5 separate regions of the Homo sapiens genome follow, and regions 1, 3, 4 and 5 are each linked to region 2. Evidence: promoter capture Hi-C in 16 types of primary human blood cells and fetal thymus (Javierre and others, 2016). All regions are on one chromosome and are shown on one strand. Each heading gives the region's core, a stretch centred on a gene start or on the middle of the fragment in contact. The rest is flanking DNA. Distances are from core to core; before and after follow the strand shown. Region 1 has its middle 52 kb from the start of SNTB1. Region 2 holds the start of DEPTOR (DEP domain containing MTOR interacting protein). Region 3 has its middle 11 kb from the start of SNTB1. Region 4 overlaps MTBP (MDM2 binding protein). Region 5 overlaps MRPL13 (mitochondrial ribosomal protein L13).

What was found. The method cuts DNA at HindIII sites, captures the fragments that hold promoters and counts their contacts. A CHiCAGO score of 5 or more calls a contact.
Region 1: a contact is called between a fragment that was not itself captured here and the fragment with the promoter of DEPTOR in region 2, in 4 of 17 cell types (naive CD8 T cells, naive B cells, total B cells and 1 more). The highest score is 12.0, in naive CD8 T cells.
Region 3: a fragment that was not itself captured here is called in contact with the fragment with the promoter of DEPTOR in region 2 in 1 of 17 cell types (naive B cells); the score reaches 5.7 in naive B cells.
Region 4: a contact is called between a fragment that was not itself captured here and the fragment with the promoter of DEPTOR in region 2, in 6 of 17 cell types (naive B cells, naive CD8 T cells, total B cells and 3 more). The highest score is 8.5, in naive B cells.
Region 5: a fragment that was not itself captured here is called in contact with the fragment with the promoter of DEPTOR in region 2 in 6 of 17 cell types (naive B cells, endothelial precursors, megakaryocytes and 3 more); the score reaches 8.2 in naive B cells.

The regions. Positions count from the first base shown.
Region 1 is chr8:120,862,777-120,865,476 of GRCh38, forward strand. No RefSeq gene overlaps it. Among named protein-coding and RNA genes, the nearest start is that of SNTB1, 52 kb to the left of the region's middle. The HindIII fragment of the contact is 891 bases long and covers 989-1,879 here.
Region 2 is chr8:119,872,389-119,875,088 of GRCh38, forward strand. DEPTOR (DEP domain containing MTOR interacting protein) reads left to right here and starts at 1,334. Exons shown (of 9, transcript NM_022783.4): 1 at 1,334-1,580. The coding sequence starts at 1,459. RefSeq lists enhancers at 1,161-1,455, 1,196-1,696, 1,372-1,631, 1,697-2,197, 1,832-1,931 and 1 more and a silencer at 1,180-1,352. The HindIII fragment of the contact is 2,864 bases long and covers 1-2,700 here.
Region 3 is chr8:120,822,109-120,824,808 of GRCh38, forward strand. No RefSeq gene overlaps it. Among named protein-coding and RNA genes, the nearest start is that of SNTB1, 11 kb to the left of the region's middle. The HindIII fragment of the contact is 564 bases long and covers 1,094-1,657 here.
Region 4 is chr8:120,464,616-120,467,315 of GRCh38, forward strand. All of the region lies in intron 10 of MTBP (MDM2 binding protein), which reads left to right. Among named protein-coding and RNA genes, the nearest start is that of MTBP, 21 kb to the left of the region's middle. The HindIII fragment of the contact is 2,238 bases long and covers 283-2,520 here.
Region 5 is chr8:120,404,310-120,407,009 of GRCh38, forward strand. The region is part of intron 6 of MRPL13 (mitochondrial ribosomal protein L13); the gene reads right to left. Among named protein-coding and RNA genes, the nearest start is that of MRPL13, 39 kb to the right of the region's middle. The HindIII fragment of the contact is 2,110 bases long and covers 262-2,371 here.

The DNA.
Region 1 (2,700 bases), core at 184-2,683, 990 kb after region 2:
TGTATAAGTTGCCAAATTTCATACATGCTTACCTCAGCTTCTGACTATAATGGGGTAACCGTGATGGGACTTAATCCTCTCATAGTAAACAACTGGATAACTGGATGAAATACACAAGGCAACTATTTCTGGACAGTAGACAACAGGCAGTGCAGGGCTGTAATTTATGAGAGAAGGGAAATAAGCAAGGTGAATGCATTAGTTCCTTCTCACACTTCTATGAAGAAATACCCAAGATTGGGTAATTTATAAAGAAAAGAGGTTTAATTGACTCACAGTTCTGCAGAGCTGGGGAGGCCTCAGGAAACTTACAATCATAGCAGAAGGGGAAGCAAACACATCCTTCTTTACATGGTGGTAGGAAGGAGCATAATGATAACTGAGTGAAGGGGGAAGCCCCTTGTAAAACCATCAGATTTTGTGAGAACTTACTCACTATCCCGAGAATAGTACGAGGGAAACCGCCACCATGATTCAATTACCTCCCACCGGTTTCTCTCATGACACGTGGGGATTATGGGAACAACAATTCAAGATGGTATTTGAGTGGGGACCCAGCTGAACCAAATCAGTGAACATTATGTTCATCTGACTTTCTGTCCAGAAGCACTTTCCAGATAGCACGTAGAAGGAGAGCAATTGGAATTTAGAAAGAGTGAGACATCTGGAATTTAACGAGTAAAACCAGAGATTGAGGAGCTGCCCAGAGAAAGAGCTCCAAAATCTGTATGAAGACCCCCTTGAATACTAAACCACAGTTGTGAAGGGTGAGACTACATGAGACTGGGTAAAGAACAAACAAGAAATCGTAAGTTGAAGAGTTTCTAGAGTACACGCAGGGCTAGGAGATGTTTGTGTTCTGGTCAACCATAGTAAGGAGCCCTTGTTAAAGCTTTGAGGTATTCAGGGGGAAACACTAGAGGGTCATGCCTTTCAAGAGTGAAAATCTAGTTCTACAGTAAAGGACACTTGAAACCTGCTGTAACAAAGCTTATAGGAAAAGTTTGAAAAGCTCAAGCTGATCAACAAGTAACTTAAAAGTTTGCTAGAATAAAAAAAAAGGAACATTTGATGTGTGTGTGTGTGTGTGTGTGTGTGTGTGTGTGTGTGTAGGGAATCCAGGGATGTGATGTTCCCTCTAGGCTCTTAGTAGTGGGTACCAGCGTCAGTTCTGATGCAGGTTAGAGGGTAGTGCCGCAGACTCTGAGATTTCTTGGTGATAAATAGGATTGTAGTAGTAATGCACTGGATATGTGGACAGACTCAAGACTTCCTTGTTAGCCAGGGTAATGCAGGCAATGGTGATATCTGAGGTTGTGCAAACGTATTCTTAGCAGTGTAACATGTACAATGTCCAGAATCTAATTAAGAATAGTAAGCATTTGAAGAAGTAGAACAACTCAATTGATTACAGAAGCATCACAATTTATATTATAATAAAATAACAAATATTATATTATATATTATACAAATATATTTAATTAAAATGTAAATTAAAGTCTATTCTATTACAAAAAGCATCAGTCACCAGAAACAGATTTTAAAAACTGGCAAAGGCAATGGAATTGACAGAAAAGAACCTTAAAAGAGCTTTACAAATACCTTTAAAATTTAAAGGGAAACATAGCCTAACAAGGAGTGGGATGAAGGATTAAAACTGGAACTTCTAGAAATGGGATAATACATGAATGGAAAATTTCACTGGAGGAGATTAACAACTGATTAACACCAAGAATGCAAGAAAAAAAATTACTGAATTTGAAAGCATAGCAATAGAAACCATGCAAACTGAAGCACAGAGGGAGAAAAAATTGAACAAAATAAACAGAGCCTTAGTGACTCAGGGGACAACATTGAATGTCAACGTATGTGTGATTTAAGCTTAATAAAAGGGGAAAGATAAGTTCACACATAAAATTATTTGAAGAAATACTGGCAAAAATTTTTGCAAATTTGTTGAAAATGGTAAATCTATATATCCAAGATGCTCAACAGAACCTTAAGCAGGATAAACACAATGAAAACCATATCAAGGCATATTATAATAAAATTGTTGGAAGCCTATGATAAAAAATAAATCTTGAAAGCAGCCAGACACTGTATACAGAGTAAATCATAATAATAGGCAGACTTCTAGTCTGACACATTGTAGGCCAGAAGACAATAGAATGGCGTCTTTAAAGCCCTGAAAGAAAAAATAAAAAAGCTATCAGCCTAAAATTCTTTTTTTATTTATGATGGTGATGATGATGATGATGATTATTATTATTATTTTGAGGTGGAGTCTCGCTCTGTCACCCAGGCTGGAGTGCAGTGGCGTGATCTCGGCTCATCGCAACCTCCACCTCCCAGGTTCAAGGGATTCTCCTGCCTCAGCCTCTTGAGTAGCTGGGATTACAGGTGCGCGTCACCACGCCCAGCTAATTTTTGTATTTTTAGTAGATACAATGTTTCACCATGTTGGTCAGGCTGGTCTCTATCTCCTGACCTCGTGATCAGCCCACCGCGGCCTCCCAAAGTGCTGGAATTACAGGTGTGAGCCACTGTGCCTGGCCCAACCTAGAATTCTCTATTCAGTGGAAATAGCTTTAAAAACAAAGGCAAAATAGACTTTTTCAAATGAGCAAAAGCTAAGAGAATTCATTGACAGCAGACTTGCACTATAAAAGATATTAAAAGAAGTTTTTCATCTGGAAGGAA
Region 2 (2,700 bases), core at 84-2,583:
GTTGAAAATAATACCAAACTCCAGGGTTTTGTGAGGATAAAGTGTTTGGCACAATGTAAAGCACAGAATAAATGCTCAACACACATGAATACTGCCATAAACATTACTTCGCCTTCCTGCAGACCAACTCCGACTCTGCATGAAACAGAAAATCAGAACATTTATTTGGTACTAATCAAATTTCTTTTCATAATCTTTTACGGATAGACAATACCATTGTATCCCCATTTTAAGAGGCAGTCTTTCAGTCTTTTCAAAGCATAACTTTGAAGCCAGAATTGCCTCGGTTAGATTTCTTCTTATTATTATTATGATGATTTGAGACGGAGTCTCGCTCTTGTTGCCCAGGCTGGAATGCAATGGCACTAACTCCGCTCACCCGAACTCGGCTTACAGCAACCTCCGCCTCCCGGGTTCGAGCGATTCTCCTGCCTCAGCCTCCGAAGTAGCTAGGATTACAGGCATGCACCACCACGCCCGGCTAATTTTGTATTTTTAGTAGAGACGGGGTTTCTTCATGTTGGTCAGGCTGGTCTGGAACTCCTGACCTCAGGTGATCTGCCCGCCTCGGCCTCCCAAAGTGCTGGGATTACAGGCATGAGCCACGGTGCCCGGCTCTTCTTATACTTATTATTTGCTTGCCTTAGACAAGTAACTTCACCTCTCCAAGCCTGCATTCTAATGCAAAACGAACACCAATACCTATTTTATGAATTATTGTAATAATTAAACGAGGTAATACCATACCTGAAGTATCTTTAATGCAGCAGATGTCAAAAGTGGTAGCCGCAATTATTTTTATTTTGTAAGGGAGGATTAAACACATTTAAATAGGACATCACAGGAGCGGAGCTGGATCCCAGGTCAGCCTGATTCCTAGGCCGGCGTTCCTTATTGATTACAACATAAGGCAAACAAGTCGTCTTTGGAGAGAGAGGTTGGGGAGAGAAGAATGTTTAATTTCTCCATGCCCTTCAATGACATGTATAACCTTCACTGTTGACCATTTGGCCAGATTGTTGAATTATGTTTTGCTCTCTGGCAACTTGGGGTGTGGAACGTACAATAAAAACGCCTTCACACTAATAACCTCCAGGCCTGTCCCCAGGATTCTACAGCATGAGCTTTGTGGGTAAAGAGAGCTCACCAAATTCAGCCTCCAGCAGCACACACAGCTCAGTAGCAGCGCCCCGCCCAGATGTTTATATTTTCCTCCATCGGCCCCGCCCCCCGACCATGAGGGGCTCTAGCCACGCCCCCAAGCTCAAGTTTCTGGGGCCGGACTAGCCCAGCGCGTCTGCCTACCCATAGGGATTCCCTCTCCAGCCAATCCAGTCAGAGCAGCGGAGCTGCCCCGAACAAAGATGGCGCGGGAAGCGTCTGTGAGGGCAGACTGATCCGAGCACCCAAACCCTCGGCGGACAGCGGAGCCAGTGGTAGCCGCACGGCCCTAAAACCATGGAGGAGGGCGGCAGCACTGGCAGTGCTGGCAGTGACAGCAGCACCAGCGGGAGTGGCGGGGCGCAGCAAAGGGAGCTGGAGCGCATGGCTGAGGTCTTGGTCACCGGGGAACAGCTACGGTAAGGCAAGAGACACAGCGGGTGAGCTCACGATGGCACTGCCAACGCGTGCCCGCTGCAGTCCTGCGCGCACGCGCTCCCTGGCTCGTGGCTTGCGACTCGCGTGGGGCGCCGGAACGGCTGCGGGCGCGTGGATGGTCCTCGGTGCGCCCGCGCTTAGCTGCTGCAGCCTCGGTCCCTGAGGACTCGCTCGCCAAGCGGGGCTGCCTGGCAGAAGCCGACGAGCGGGTGGTGCGCGCTGCGCCCTAGCCTGGCTGCTGCAGTCCTGTGCCGGGCAAAGTCCCTGCCACCCACCGCGCTGTCCGTCTTCCCGTGTACCTGGACGCCGCCAGGCCTCCCGGCTGACAGCCTGCGCCTCATCCGCGAAGAGAGCAAGAGGGGTCGCTGTGGGGTCCCGAGGCGACCCCAGCCCCTCTACTCCTTGATAAAAGGAGCAAGACCAACGATAGTCTTCACTAGGTTTTCCTTTTTGCTGACAAGTCTTCCTTCACTCCCCTGAGCCTCGGTGTTTTACATCTGTAAAACAGGGCTGATTCAAGGGCTTTTTGTGAGGTTAAACTGAGAGAGCATTTCTGAAACCCTGCACCTATCAGTTAATTGGCACATCGTCCTCAATCATTTGGGTCCGCAAGGGGGCGTGGAGGCACCTTGTCGGGCTGCCTTGAGGCTGTGCCAACTCCCCGGGCTCGCACGTTTTGGGCAGCAGGATCCATGGGGACCCTGGCTCCTGCAAGAATTAAGACTTGCGGCGTCTCACGGAACTTGGGAACAAGGACGACCCCCAGAATCCCCCTTGCCATTCCCATCCCTGTATGGTCCTTCCTCTAGGGCTGTTTGGGAATAGTACTTATGGTCTAACTGGTTCTGCAGCTGCCCTTCGTGTGGTTATAAATCAGTTTGCCAGGAAAAAGAAAACCCAGCTCTGCAGCGTTTGAGCCACAACTTGTACGCGGGCCCCTGTTACTTCTAGTTCTTAGCCTGAATTCCCCAGCTTGTTTTGGTTTCTAAATGTCTGTGTTTCAGGACCTGAAAGAGTGTCTTGCAAAGGTCTCTGAAGGAGACCAATATTGGAAGTCAGAATTAACTGATTTTTAATGTTACAAAAGGCAAATTGCACCTA
Region 3 (2,700 bases), core at 126-2,625, 950 kb after region 2:
CAATAACTGACTTTCAAATGGAGAAAGAAAATAACTCTCTAGGAAATATGGTAAACTATAAACTAACTTTTAAATATAGAGACAGAAACAAAGAGGATGTAACAGCAAGAGAAAGAGATCCAAATGTGGAAAAATTAGCAGTAAGAGAATCTAGTAATGAATAAATGGGTTTATGCTGTATGATTCAACTTTTTGTAGGTTAAATTTTTTTTTTCAAAATAGAGTTGGGGATAATAATGCAGAAACCTGAGCCCCACCTCAAAACATTCTGATGATTGCGATCTTAGTGTCTGAAAATGTAAATTTTATCAACAGGATTCTGATGCAGATAAGATAGCATTTTAAGAAAGATTAAGAAGATACATCATGGAAACTCAAGGCCAAAGACTCTTCAGGATCATATATCCTTGGCTAAAGAAACAATTTCTTTTGCCAAGCCAACACTGAAATTTCCTCTACCAAGGAATCAGTGGTTCTAGATCAGTCAAACCCAAGAAGATAGAGGGTACTCAACAAATATTTAATAAATGGTTGGGCATGTTGTCTCATGTCTGTAATCCCAGCATTTTGGGAGGCCAAGGCGGGATGATTACTTGAGGTCAGAAGTTCAAGACCAGCCTGGGCAACATAGCAAAACCCTGTCTCTACAAAAATAAAATAAAATAAATAAACATTAGCTGGGTGTGGTGGCACAAACCTGTAGTCACAGCTACTTGGGAGGCTGAGTAGAAAGGATCACTTGAGCCCAAGATGTCCAGGCTGCAGTTAGCCATGATCACACCACTGCACTCCAGTCTGGGTGACAGAGTGAGACCCTGTCTCTTAAAAAAAAATATTGCTGGATAATTGTGAATGCTTAGTAGACTAGAAAAACAGAAAGGAACTGATTTAGTGCCCCATGATTGTTACTCAGGTATTTTCAGATACTTTCTCTGTTGTAGTCTTTCCAAGAAACCAGTAAGATATAGAATGATAATTTATTTTTATGTATAATAAAACTCAGGTTGAACAACTGTGAAGTCAAACTACCTAGATATAAATTCCAGTTACTTAATTTACTGACTCTGTAATACTAGGAAAAGTAACTTTTCTAAGCTTCCATTTACTTGGCTTTAAAATAGTGTTTCCAAATTATTTTTATCTCATAGGATTATTTTAAAGATTAAATAAAATCGTGCATGTAAGGCACTTGACACAGGACTTACCTAGAGTAAGTGATCAATAAATATTAACTAGTCTTACTATGTCTGAGATCACTGAGCTAATAAGTGGTAAACAGCCTAAAGTAAATAGCTTAAGACAAGTGGAAAGATTATTTTCTCTATATTTAGTTAAAATAATAGTGTAATGAATATAAATTCACATTGAATTCTTCAGCTATTTCTTTTCTCCCTTTTCCCTTGCCTCCCTCTCTTTCCTAAAACAAACTGAAATTTTTATCCTAAGGCATTACAGTTTCAATGTGTACAGGATGCTGAAGTTTCATAGTAAAGTGCAAAGACTGGCAAACTATTTTCCATGGACTAGCTACTTGATTTCATAAAGTTTCATTGGAACACAACCACACACATTCGTTTACATGTTGTCTATGGCTACCATTCATGCTACAATGGCAGGCAGGGTTGAGTAATCCTGACAGAGACCATAAGGCCTGCAAAGCTTAAAATATTTGTAACTTGACCATTTACAAAAAAAGAATAACACCTGCTCCAATGTCTTAAAATGCTTAGAAAAGGACTGGAGCAACTTTAAAAGCAGGTAAATCTGGAAGTTAGGGTAAGGGGCGCCAGTCTGGCAAATACAGTCAGGTATCACTTAATGATGGGGATATGTATTAAGAAATACATTGTTAGGCAATTTCTTGTGCAAATAGCATAGAAGGTACTTAAACAAATCTAGATGCTGTAGCCTACCACACACCTAGGCTATGGACTAATTCCTAGACTACAAAATTGTATAGCATGTTAGACAATTATAACACAATTGTACGGGATCACTGTCATGTATGTGGTCCTTCCTTGACTGAAACGTCATTAGATGGCTCATAAATGTAATAGACATTCCAGTCTATGCTATGGTGGCTATCATAATTATAAACAAAGGAAATAAAAAAGAGAATCTGAACCAACATTTGAGAGGGCCTGCAATTAACCAGTTTGCCATATCTTCTCATGCAAGCCTCATATCAACTCTGTAAAGCAGAAGTCATCCCAGTTTCATAAATGGAGACTTGGAACACAGAGAGATGAAGAAACCTGCTCAAGGTCACATTAAGTGTGAGTGGAAGGATTGGAATTCAGACTTAAGTTTGACAGAGTCCACATCTTGTCCCCTTTCCACTGGGCTTCAGTCAATTGAAACTCAAATTTTACATTCCTGATTCTCTGAGTCAGGGCCTTTAAAATTATTTTTAAAGGGAAGCCCCCAAGAGGATTAACTTCTCTTCTGAAGAGTGAGTCTGTCAGCCTTACATGGCTATGCTTTAAATTCTGTCCTTTAGGCTTCCTGAAAGGTTAAAAAATTGTGGCTGTTCCTCTTAGTCACCAACCCCAATGCCCCCAAGTCCGATCAGTGTTACATTGCAGTAGAAATTTCAGTAAGATTGCAAAACCTTTTACTGCCTTTTACTTTCTTTCCAGAAAGTTAACCAACTGAAAAATTTGTTTGGGGATATTGGGGATCCCTTCCTTCCTACTCCTC
Region 4 (2,700 bases), core at 152-2,651, 590 kb after region 2:
TTTTGACCTTAAGATGTATATTTGACTATATAGTAACTTAAAATTTTGGCTTCTGGCCTCTTTTTCCATAAATTTAATAGTCCTTTGAATAGGACGACAAAGTATTTATTTGATGAAGTGGCCTTTACCAATATTAACCTGGCTTTCATCCTCTAAGAATAACTAATTTACTAAATTTTGAAATTTTAAAATTTATCTTTTATCATTTATCCAACATATATTCTACTGTGTATGAGGTACTATACTAGATTTCGGGAACCCAGTAATGAAGTGTACAGAAGAAGCTTCTGTATTTGTGGAACTTACATTTTAGGGGACCAACAGAAAATAAATAACTACAGACATAATAAGAATTATGAAGAAATAAACAGCCTGAGATAGGGAATAAGTCAAGAGACCCTAGTTTAGATAGAGATTAATAAGGCCATACATTTCTCCAAACTATTTGCAGAGACAGCTTATGAATTAGTATATATTTTTTAAGTGCACTGAGAATAAAAAATACCCTGCTTCTATTTTAATCCAGGTAGCCAAGTAGCTCTCTGTATATCCCTGTCCAGTCACCTAATTTTTTGGAGATGCTTCCTTGTATGGATTGAGAAAATTGTTATTTATCATTAATTATCTATATTGCCAAATAAGGGAGGAAAGGAATATAGATGGTATAGTAGAAAGTCTTAAATAGAAGAGCATGTTTTTTAGAAAACTTGACTTTAAGCCATAGCTATGCCACTCACTGGCTTACAGCTCTTAATATTGTAAACTGGAAATAATAATCCCTCTGTTACCTATTTCAGAGTTGTAATAAAAACCAAATTGAAATGTATTTTATAAACTACCAAGTATGATATAAATGATGGTTGCTAACTAATTTTTTATTGTCTTTGAAGTTTATGTGGCCCAAATGATGGACACACATATGTGAAGCAGTTTCCTTAAAAGTATAAAGCGCTAGATATTAGATATTCTCTAAGTAATTTGAAGGTATGATGAAATTTATAGAAATTTTACAGAGAAATTTGTAGAAATCTTATAGAGACTTTTTTTTTTTTTTTTTTTTTTGAGACGGAGTCTCGCTCTGTCACCCAGGCTGGAGAGCAGTGGCGCGATCTCAGCTCACCGCAACCTCTGCCTCCCGGGTTCAAGTGATTCTCCTGCCTCAGCCTCCCAAGTAGCTGGGATTACAGGCATGTGCCACCATGCCTGGCTAATTTATAGAGACTATTTCAAGTCAAAATGAGATCTGTACCTATAGTTTAACACAGGTGTAACATAAGCATTAGTCCATCTAGTTATTGAAGATAGGCAACACTAATCCTAGAAGCACCCTAAACTATTAATGTTTAATAATATATTTTCAGTTGTTTTGTTTTAAATTTGTTGTATTAGATTATCATTTTTTCTTCTCAAACCATGATTGTAAAATATTACAACATACTTTATTAGTAAGAAATAGAGACTTTATAACTATGTTCCCAGTTCAATGCAGCAAAAGGGATTATTTTTGAAGCCATATATTATGTAACTTAGAAAACAAATCTAAATATGAAGTAATTTATTTTTCTTAAACATTGAGTTATGATTTGTTTTTTACTCTTTTTTTTTTTTTTTTTTTAGACGGAGTCTCGCTCTATTGCCCAGGCTGGAGTGCAATGGTGTGATCTTGGCTCACTGCAACCTCCGTCTCCCGGGTTCAAGCAATTCTCCCGGCTCAGCCACTCAACTACCTAGAACTACAAGCATACACCACCATGGTTGGCTAATTTTTTTTTGTATATTTAGTGGAGACAGGGTTTCGTCATGTTGGCCAGGCTGGTCTTGAACTCCTGACCTCAAGTGACCCACCCACCTCGGCCTCCCAAAGTGCTGGCTTTACAGGTGTGAGCCACTGCACCTGGTCATTTTTCACATTTTTGAAAAAGTGTTTAATTACATACCAGTTCTTTGAAATCTAGTGCTTTATAACTTGGGTTTCAGCTGGGCGCGGTGGCTCACGCCTTTAATTCCAGCACTTTGGGAGGCCGAGGCAGGTGGATCACCTGAGGTCAAGAGTTTGAGACCAGCCTGGCCAACATGGTGAAACCCCATCTCTACTAAAAATACAAAAAATTAGCCGGGCAAGGAGGCGCTTGCCTGTAGTCCCAGCTATGCGGGAGGCTGAGGCAGGAGAATCACTTGTACCCAGGAGGTGGAGGTTGCAATGAGCCAAGATCACGCCACTGTACTCGAGCCTGGGCAACAGAGCGAGACTCCGTCTCAAAAAATAAATAAATAAATACCTTGGGTTTCATTTATTAAACAATTAATTTTTTTAAAAATGTTTTTACTGCTGCTATCTGCCAGATGCTTGTTTGTAATATTGGATAGAATAAGATGGACAGGCCCTTTCTCAAGAAACTTTCATGGTGCTTAAATTCTATTGCTTTGTGTGATCTTCAGTCAGCATCTTAGCTTAAACAAATTATTTATCTATGTAACTATGATTAGCCCCAGAATATAAGTAAAAACTTCTTGGAGTAAAGCTTATTTTACTAATAATTAAGCTAGATTAGGAAAAGACAAGATAGGATTGTTAGGGAGTTATGATGTTCACTAATCTTCTGGCTGGGAAATATTTCTTCAGAGAGAGGAATTTGCAAGCTAGAAACATGATTTCCACAATGACTGCTTGTTGGAGAGGACCTACTGAAAAGATTTAAT
Region 5 (2,700 bases), core at 67-2,566, 530 kb after region 2:
CAAAAGGTTAATTTATTTAATTGAAATGAAATGACAATACCACCTTTCAGTGGAATTTAGAAGTAAAATTGAATGGTATAATCCACCACATAAAGGAATGTGGACATTGACCTCAAAGCAAATTTCCTCTTTGTCTTTTCTCTGCCTGGCAACCATGACTAATCTTTCAAAATCCACCTCAAACGTTACATTTTCTGTCAAGCTCTTCACAACAATTCCTTTCTAACACAGACTGGGCTCCTTTCTCTAGGATTGCCAGAAAGCTTAATGCATGCTTCTACTACAATGTTTCTCTAATCATACTGGCTCTTCCTTGTAAATAACACATGCTGAGTGCTCATTAGATGCCACAAAGTATAATAAAGACTTCACATGAATTATTTTATCCTCACAACTACTTTGTAAGAAAGACACTGTTATTAGTTTCATTCTACAGTGACAAAACTTAGGCTCAGAGTAGCTCAGTAACTTGGCTAAGGATACACAGCTAGGAGGTAGATGGCAGGGATCTGAGTGTAAACAATTTGACTCCGGTGCTTGCAAGCACCATTTTATTCTATATGATGCCTCTTAGGCTGCCAGTCCTTTGAAGGCAGGGCCCTGATATGATTATCTTATACTCCCAGCAGCCACGGTAATGCCTGATACACAGTGGATGCCTAGTATATCTGAGCACAGTACAGAGTACAGTGACCCCCTTGAAAATGCCACTTCATGTGCAAATTCATCTTTAAATAATCGGGATATTTTCCAGATGGTTAATTTGCTTCCAAAGGGGGAAAAGCAGTATCATGGCCAAAGACTAGATAGTTAAGATAGTGGCACAGCTGGAAACATCAACTCATACTGGAGGCAATTAATGATACACATTTTTCAGGAGGTTCCCCTGTGGGGAAAAGAGAGGTTTTTACACTAAATATGGTTTTACTTCTCTCTGTCTCAAACAGAAATGAAAACAAGCATACACACAACTTTTCTGTATTGCTTATTCCTTTCCACTAAAACAACGAAATTCAAGGTAATATAAGAAAGGGGAGGAGAGGGCTATTTATGTCTGTGTTTCTCAAACTTCAGCAGGCATACAAATTGCTTGGATTCTTATGAGAATGCAGGTCCTGATTTCACTTATTCTGTGGAGGGGCTCACGATTTGGCAATCCTAACAAGTTCCCACTTGATGCATTGCTGGTTTATGGACCACATTCTAATTAGCATGGGTTCCCCTTAGACCAAAGACAGAGCTATTTATAAGACAGAGGAGCACCTTCAGTAAGAAATTACTAATACTATCTAACAGAAGGTAACACACATACTTCTTCCTAAACTAGAGATGACTCCATTTGATACACAGTATCTTTCCTGGTTCTTTTCTCCCAAACTGTAGTTCAAGCAGCTTTAGTACTCAGCAAATGTATTTAGGTTCTTTAAAAGTTGGTAACCCATATATGGTAACATGCAAACTAGAATTGAATTCTCAGATTATGTTGCTTACATACCCTATTTTGTGCTGAGGTGACCTAATCTCTTCACTAGATTAAATAGTTTTTAAAAACAAGAAGGGTGGCATCTAGCACATTACTTTTCATACTATGAATGCTTAAATATTTGAAACTTAAATGAAACGGCTTAATCTTTTAAAAGAGGGATGATAGGTGAATGTATATTGTACATTAGCCCTACTTCTTTGTCACTGTTTCATTGGAAATAACAAATTATGTAGTTTTAAAATGTGCGTTAATGTTATATAAGGTTAATATATTTGTAAATAATAACAGTATTCTAAAATAATCACAGGAAATCTTTAGAGGGATATTTCAAATGCCATTTCTGAAAGCTAACACCTGTCAATTTTTTTCATATAAATTATACAAATTTACTCCTTGACAGAAATATAAGTTGTATTTTAATGAAATTACCATGATTGTTCTTTAGACATGTAATACAAAGTATCCAAAATTGTATATATTAGAGTTGCATTAAAGTAAGGCCTGTTAAGAAAAATGTCTATTTTAGTTATAGTTAGACAAGATTTAAGTAAGGAGCAAAACCCAAAACATGAATTTATCACACTTCATGAACTGAACATCAATTTCCCTTTCAGGGAGGATATGATTCCATTCATGCATTCATTTATTCAACAAATTGACTGGTCAGGTCCTGCTGTGGGCGCCGGGAATAAAGTAGTGAGCAGGACCCAGTCCTCATCTTTATAAAGCAGTTTCTAACAGTGGATTATATATGTGTGCATGTGTGTGTGTGTGTGTGTGTGTGTGTGTGTGTGTGTAATTGTTATCTAATACAGCTATGATATATATTTTATATACAATTTATATATAGTATACTTATATATAAAAATATATGAAACACACACAAGCTTTGATCTTTGAAGTGAAAGACGAAAGTTTTAAATTTTCATTTATGTGCTTAAAATATACTTGGGAGATTAATGAATCATCTAAGAAATAGCTAACATAAAACTTTCCTTAATTCATTCTCTAAATTGTGCTAAACTTTCCATAGCTATCAAATGTTCTGTAACAACTATCTATTTTGCAGATACTTGTCACTAGCAAAAACTGCCTTTATACAAAGTAACTTTCGAAAATAGTATTACATTTTGAGTGAGAAAACAGAACTTTAAAAAGCCTCATCTGAGTTGTAGAAAATATTCTCTGGTGCTTGTGACTGCTCAAAAACAGTT